2 separate regions of the Homo sapiens genome follow, and region 1 is linked to region 2. The links are contacts of gene promoters, found by promoter capture Hi-C in blood cells and fetal thymus (Javierre and others, 2016). All regions are on one chromosome and are shown on one strand. The core of a region is centred on a gene start or on the middle of the fragment in contact, and the rest is flanking DNA. Distances in the headings are between cores, read along the strand shown. Region 1 overlaps MGAM2 (maltase-glucoamylase 2 (putative)). Region 2 holds the start of TAS2R5 (taste 2 receptor member 5).

What was found. Contacts are between HindIII fragments. The CHiCAGO score rates a contact against its expected background, and 5 or more counts as called.
Region 1: a contact is called between a fragment that was not itself captured here and the fragment with the promoter of TAS2R5 in region 2, in 1 of 17 cell types (M2 macrophages). The highest score is 5.9, in M2 macrophages.

Annotation. Positions count from the first base shown.
Region 1 is chr7:142,193,330-142,197,098 of GRCh38, reverse strand. MGAM2 (maltase-glucoamylase 2 (putative)) reads right to left here. Exons shown (of 48, transcript NM_001293626.2): 38 at 812-945; 39 at 500-534; 40 at 283-399. Among named protein-coding and RNA genes, the nearest start is that of PRSS58, 63 kb to the left of the region's middle. RefSeq lists an enhancer at 1-1,008. The HindIII fragment of the contact is 5,144 bases long and covers 1-3,769 here.
Region 2 is chr7:141,787,858-141,791,552 of GRCh38, reverse strand. TAS2R5 (taste 2 receptor member 5) reads right to left here and starts at 1,336. Exons shown (of 1, transcript NM_018980.3): 1 at 186-1,336. The coding sequence starts at 1,191. The coding sequence ends at 292. It also overlaps the pseudogene TAS2R6P. The HindIII fragment of the contact is 7,447 bases long and covers 994-3,695 here.

The DNA.
Region 1 (3,769 bases), core at 520-3,019, 410 kb before region 2:
TCAATATTCTTAAAAGCAAAGGGATCTTCTTTCATTTTAGCCCCATGTGGAACTATAAAAACCTTTCCTCATGGGTAGTAATTCTCCAGGAGATGAGAAAAGGTATATTTCTAAAAATTACTGATAATTCCAGAGTTCTGAACTCTGTGGATTTTCCAAGAAATTAAGATTCTGGTGATGTTTTTTGATTTTTCTCAGGAAATGAGTATAATAGTCCTGGGGGTTAAAAAGAAGTTATGATTTGAGGGTACACAACACCTGGAGCACGAACTACTGCCTCACCCTTGTCCCGATGTTGTTGTGGTTTCTGGAAAATGGATAAAATGCCCCCAGTTGCATCCAGCGAACACACATCTCATATTCAGCATCTCCAAAGAACCCACAGATATCTGCTCCTGTCTGAGAAGATGCATAATGAGAGCATGAGGTGGGAATTTCATGAGGCGCTGACTCACTAAAATCTGACTGGGCAATTAGTAATGGTCTGAATGTGACTTACATAAGGTATTCCAAAGAGACTGAACTCCATCATGCCTGCAAAGAGAAGACACAGCTGTGTTGGAGGAAGGAGCACTTTGGGAGGAGAGTGAAGGCTTGGCCTGATTTTTCCTTACCCCATTAGAAAGCCCTGGACCATGATGAAAATATTAAAAGATGGGTGTAAATTAAAATCCACGCCCAGAGAGAACTCAGTTCTTGTTAATTTTACCACCCACCTAGATGATGATAGAGACATAACCAGTGCTGTTGAACAGCACAAACTCCAGTGCCCTCCCTGCCAGCACAGGCCCCTGGGAATGAGCCCACACACCAATGATAGATTTCCCCAGCTGGTCCCATGCAGCTGTGTTGTTTCCCAACCGGTGTCCTCCCCAGCGTCCAGAAGAGGGAAATGTGGAGCGGGTGATGATGACCCCTCGCTGTCCTGTCACCTCCTGCACAGCTCTGGTGGGAGGGGAATAAAGAGGTGAGTTGAAGAAACAAACTCCTTTACAGAGAATAACTGCAGCTTGGAGCATGAGAGGGTGAGGGTACTTCGGTCCGAGTCAGATAACTTCTTCCCTGAAAGAATCTGCTGTCTCAAAGCCATGCTAAAGATCCCAACAAACTTCACAGCAAGACTAGAGGTATATCTGCACGTAGAATGTGGGTTTCATTTTTGAAAAATCTGGTTAATTAACTATCACCCTGGAGTAAGAGAAAGGGGTGGGAGTGAGGCGTAATATAGCTATTTATGGAACAATTCCTCTATTCCAGTATTATACCGGTCACTTTCCTATGTGGTGTCTCATAACATCATGAAAAGGTTTCCTTGCACTCCTTTTACTGTTAGGAAGCTAAGATTCAGAGAAGTTAGAAAGGCATTCGCCTGAAAATAGTGAGCTGGACAAAATAAGATGATCTTTAAAATGCTTACCAAAGGTCATTTAAAGGGTAAAGAGGTCTGGGTGTGGTGGCTCACACCTGTAATCCCAGCATTTTGGGAGGTCAAGGTGGGTGGATCACTTGAGGTCAGGAATTCAAGACCAGCCTGGCCAACATGGTGAAACCCTGTCTCTACTAAAAAAAAAAAAAATTAGCCGGGTGTGGTGTGCATACCTCTAATCCCAGCTACCCAGGAGGCTGAGGTAGGAGAATCACTTGAACCTGAGGAGATGGAGGTTGCAGTGAGCTGAGATCGTGCCACTGCCCTTCAGCCTAGGTGATAGAGCAAGACTCTGTCTCAAAAAAAAAAAAAAAAAAAAAAAAAAAAGAGTAAAAAGGAGGCCAGGCACAGAAACTCACACATGTAATCCCAGCACCTTGGGAGGCCAAGGCAGAAGGACTGCTTGAGGCCAGAAGTTCAAGACCAGCCTAGGCAACACATTGAGACCCTGTCTCTACAAAAAAATAAAATTAGCTGGGCAGGGTGGTGCACGTGTGTCTGTAGTCACATGGCAGACAGGGGAAGAGGGAAAAAAAGAATAAGGAGGCAGATCTGGGATCCAAATAAAAGCTACAGCATTTTGGAAATATTCACTCTGCTTTTCTGTACCTCAAAAAGCGAGACATGTTTTGCACACAGAGGCAAATATACATAAAAGATGTTTATCTTTCAGTGGAAGATGGATCATCTGCACGCACCCTTAGAAAATAACAACAACTGTGTGAGGGAAAAATCAACTGAACAAAAGAGAAAGTCTACTAATAGATCCTAGTATGTATACAATCCAAGTATTTGCTTAAAAAAGCATCACAGATCAATAGACACAGATGAATTAGTCAATAAATGATGTCAGGAAAAGTAGCTGACTACTGTTGTGTAAACTAATCCATTTGGGTTATTTCCAATTTTTCACACCAAAACAAATCCAAAAATGAATGGAAATACACACACACACACACACACACACACACACACATACACACATGTTCTATTAAAACTGAAAGAATATATAAACCACCTGATTTCTACAAGAGAAAGGAATTTCAAATAAAAACAATGGACAAAACATAATGAAGTAAAAGGTATAGATTTAACCATACACAAATTGGAAGAATGCATATGTATGTATGTGTGATAAAGAAATGGGGGTGAGGATAGCTTAGATTTTTATAACAGTCTAGATGAGAGATAATGAAGGCCTGGAATAAGGCAGGAAGATAGAGTAGTGACTGATGCAAAGAACTGAGTCACCAACTGAAAGCAGGAAAAGAAAGAGAATCTAGGATGACCTAATGACTAGTTAAACTTGGTTCCTTTCACTAAAATAAAGAATGCTGGAGGGGCCGGGCGCAGTGGCTCACGCCTGTATTCCCAACTCTTTGGGAGGCCCAGGCAGATGGATCACCTGAAGTCAGCAGTTCGAGACTAGCCTGGCCAACATGGCAAAACCCTGTCTTTAATAAAAATGCAAAATTAGCTGGGCATGGTGGCATGCAACTCTAATTGCAGCTACTAGGGAGGCTGAGGCAGGAGAATTGCTTGAACCCAGGAGATGGAGGTTGCAGTGAGTCGAAATCGTGCCACTGCACTCCAGCCTGGGTGACAGAGCGAGACTCCATCTTAAAAAAAAAAAAAAGAAGAAGAAAGAAAAGACTGCAGGAGGACAGGTTTAAGGGAGAGATAAATAGTTCAACATTTTAAGTATTAGATTTGAAGTGCCTATGGGACATCATAAATGAGACAGCTATGGGCAATTCTAGGTTTGAGGCTCAAGAGAGGTTTGGGTTGGGAACAAAGATTTGGGGGCCATCTGAATCCAGAGTGTATTTAAAGCCAGTAGTATGTGTTTGTGCTTATCCAAGGGAAAAGCTACATGGTGTGAAGAAAAAAAAAGATGACTGAACCCAGGTGTGGAAGGAGCATAGGCTTGGAAAGACTGGGAAGGGAAACCTGCAAAGGAGTTTGTGGAACTGTGGCCAGAGAGGTAAATGCATAAATATCTGGAATCTAGGTTGGAAAGCACAGTCAAGATCCTGAGAAACTAGCAAAAGCACACAGAGCATATGCAGCAGGGCATATTATGAACCTCAATATTGTGAACCTCAAGGTCAGCAGAGGATGTAGCATGAAGGTCAGCAGGGAAGAGTCAGTGAACAAAACTGACCACTGATGCCACAAACGCTGAGCTCTCCCATCAATGCAGGCACTCAGGGCTGACAAACAAAGGCATTTTCATAAAAAGAAATAAAAATGGTTCAGTGCTTGGACAGAAAAGAGCAAAGAAGACATGGTCTTCTCCCCAGGTGTGTAGAGGAAATAACTTAAAATGTAGAACATACTGTC
Region 2 (3,695 bases), core at 87-2,586:
AATAGGAAAAACACGATTTATATATGAATTATTTGCTATATGTAGAGAGAATATAATACCTCTTTTACCAAACATGAAGCCCTAGCCTTGATTTCTGTGGTACATTAAAAAAATATACTTTGCATTGCCAAAAGAGACATAGTATTGGGTTTTGATCCGTATTTTCTGTTGCTCATTCATTACATTGGTGTAAAAGAAGGAAAATCTTAAAAGACATGGAAAGCAGCTCCCTTATAGAGAGCTATCAAAAGAGCGTCCCAAGAGTGTCCTGACCACACTTTTCTTCCCAGATCATGGGCCCCAGCATCTCCGAGCACACACTGTCTTCCACAGGATCTTCTGACAAGTCTGCTTCACCCTAGGAATCCCCATGATCAATATGAGAGAATGAAGAGAAGGATAGGCTGCCATGAGTGTCTCCCAGATGAAGACACTGGTGAGATCAGGAGGATAAGTCTTGGAGGTGATGGAGAAGGGGCTGGCCATGATATAAACCAGGTGAAGTAAGAGGAAGCAGCCCAAGGACTTCAGCGCAGTGATGTGAGCCTTGGCCCGGACATCCCTCCTACCAGCTGAATGGACCTTCATCTTCTTGTGGTGTGTATACAAAGAGACAATCAGCATCCCAGAGGAAACAAGAAACACCACTAAAGGCAAATAACTTCCTGAATTGAGCTGAAATGCATACAGGTACTGCCAGCTTTCAAAGGGATACCGAATGCTGCTGTTTCCTTGGGGAGGATGATAGAATGTTAAGCCAATTTGGACTGTAAGTAACAAATTGATTATAAAGTAGCCCAGAAGGCACCAGAGACTCAGGTTATAGGCCCTCTGCTTCAGCCACAAGTAGGCCGGGCGATCGAAGGTCGTGATCTTCTTGCAATAGAAGACACTGAGGAAGGTGGCAAACCATAAGCTGGCCTGGCTTACCAGGACCCAGAAGATACTAAGATAGCGAAGCCAACGGCTGCTCTGGAAAAGTGGAAACAAGCTTAAGTCCAAAATGATCAGCCACTGCAGGAGAAATCGGCAGCCAGCCAGGCCCAGGATAATGAGGTTATATGAGGACCAGTTGAATTTTCTGATCCATTCTCTAAAACTCCAGACCACCAGGCTTCCATTTCCAATTAAACCGATGAGAAATTCAACCACTGCCACCAGCATCAGCAGTCCTAGGCCAGCGCTCAGCATGGCTGGGGAGAGGAGGCTCTCACTGCTCCTGGCTGAGGTCAGATCCCCTGGTAGTGATAACACACCAGGGTAAATTTTCACACCACAAAATCTGGATTTGGCCTCGTCCTTCCGTAATCTGTCTTCAAGCGAGACTGAACAGCTGTGATGAGGAACAGAGAGGTTGGAAGTTATGATACCATCTGTATTTGCATCTACATGAATGAACCCTGAGTGTAGAACCAGAGATTGCAAACAGTACCACAGACACCGGCTCTCCATCTCAAAGGTTTTGGGCCAAAGTCTAGACACCAGGGTATAACGTAACAAGGCCCCTCAACAAGAAAGACCAAATCAAAACATGCTCAGGTGCTATACAGTGCCAGTTATGAGCTCATATGCTATATAAAAAAAGAAATTTTATTTTCATGAAAAGAACACTGGGCCAGGCATGGTGGCTCACACCTGTAATCCCAACACTTTGAGAGGCCAAGGCGGGTGGATCACCTGAAGCCAGGAGTTCGAGACCACCCTGGCCAACATGGTGAAGCCCCATCTCTACTAAAAATACAAAAATTATCTGGGCGTGGTGGTGGCTGCCTGTAGTCCCAGCTACTCGGGAGGCTGAGGCAGGAGAACCACTTGAACCCAGGAGATGGAAGCTGCAGTGGGCCAAGATCGCGCCACTGCACTCCAGCCTGGGCGACAGAGCAAGACTCCATCTCAAAAAAAAAAAGTAAGCATGCTGAGAACTCTCTACGAAGCTGTAGGCAGGCAGGCCACTGCCCGTCTCTGGGCCTCAGTTGCTCTATTAATAACTGAATGGATTGTAGGATGAGATTTCCATTCCTTCGGACTAAATTTACAAAGTGCTTATTTTGTGTCAAACTACGGTGTACTAGGCACAGGGGACGGCGCCATTATAATACACAGTCCCTGCCTCCAGGTAGCATCCATTGTACATCATCTCCACCAAGCTGCAAGGCCTGGTACTCTAAAACTCTGGCTGTAGGCTATGGAGGGGCAGAGGTGGTCGCGATCTTCTACTGGACTAAAAATCTAGATGAGGCTTGAACTCGTCCAAAAACAGTGTTTCTTCAGTGACTTTCTGATAGAGACATAGTGCCTCTCTCTCCCCACCTGCCCCAATCTAGCCTGGCAGTGGAATTTGCCACCGATCCTGGTAGCCAACTGACACGTTTCCAGAAAGCTAGTCTGGCATCAAAAAAACCAAAGTATCCAGAAATATAAAGGTAGGTTTTTGACTACTTTACTACCGGTGTTGAGAGGCTAAACTACATAGAAAATTGAGATAATAATTTAGCTAATTCCCCTAAGAAAAGTGCTTGCCTAAAAAATATACAGGCTCACCTCTTTTTAAAATATATTATTTTCAAACTATAGCTATTTTCTACTTCCTTTTATCAAAAACATAGCATATTGGCAAAGAAAACTTGATTATCTGCAGTAATTTTTAAAAATGTGATACTTCCCATGCAAAATATGAAAACTCGGTTTTGACTTCTGTAGTTTATTAAAATGATGTGATTTGCATTGCTTAGAGAGCAATAAGCTCCAGTTTCTAGCCTGTTTTTCATGTTACCCTTTCATTTTGTTTCAAAATCAAAGAAGAAATGAGGAGAATTGAGAATAAAAATTTCATTTTTCTAAAATCTACAGTTATTTTTACTGTTGTCAGTGATACAGTTAAGGGCCTGATTAGATCCTTCTTCCAAGTCATGGCCTCTAGGATTTCCATGTACATATCATCTCCTACAGAATTCTCTGACAAGTCTGATTCCTCATAACCATTACAATAGACGGAAATGAAGTATAAACAGCCATGAGTGTTGCAGAGATGGCAAGAATGGTGAGATCAGAGGGAGATTAGAAGGTCATGGAAAAGTGTCTGGCCAAGGCAGAAACCATGTAAAGGGGGAAGTTCAGAGCGATGAGCACCTTGGTTTGAGCCTCCTCCTGACAGCTGTGTGGTCCTCCATCTTCCTGTGATGTCTTTACAAAAAGACAAGTGGAACAGAAACATCACAAATAGCAATCAGTCTCCTTCACTGGACAGCAATCTATAAAAATAACAGATTTAAAATGGGATGCAGGATGTTGCTGTTTCCTGTTAAGGGTTTTTAAAGGGTCCAGCCAACAAGAGCTGAGAAATAAAAAGTGATCTTGAAAGACACTAGCAAAAAACAAAAACCCAGTCTTTTCAGCTACAAGAAGTCAGCGGGACAAAGGTCATGATCTCCATGCAGCAGAAGCCACTGAAGAAAGTGGCAAACTACATGTTGGCCTGGCTTACCAGGACTCGAAGACATTAAGATAGTAAAGCCAACCACTGCTCTGGGAAAGTGGAAACAGACTTATGTCCAACATGATCGGCCTGAGTAGGAGAAAGTGGCTACTTACCAGAATCATGAGAATTTATAGGGACTCCTTACATTTTTTTGACCCATCCTCTAAAACTGCAGACCACAGGGACTCCATTTCCAACCAGGCCAATGAGAAATTCA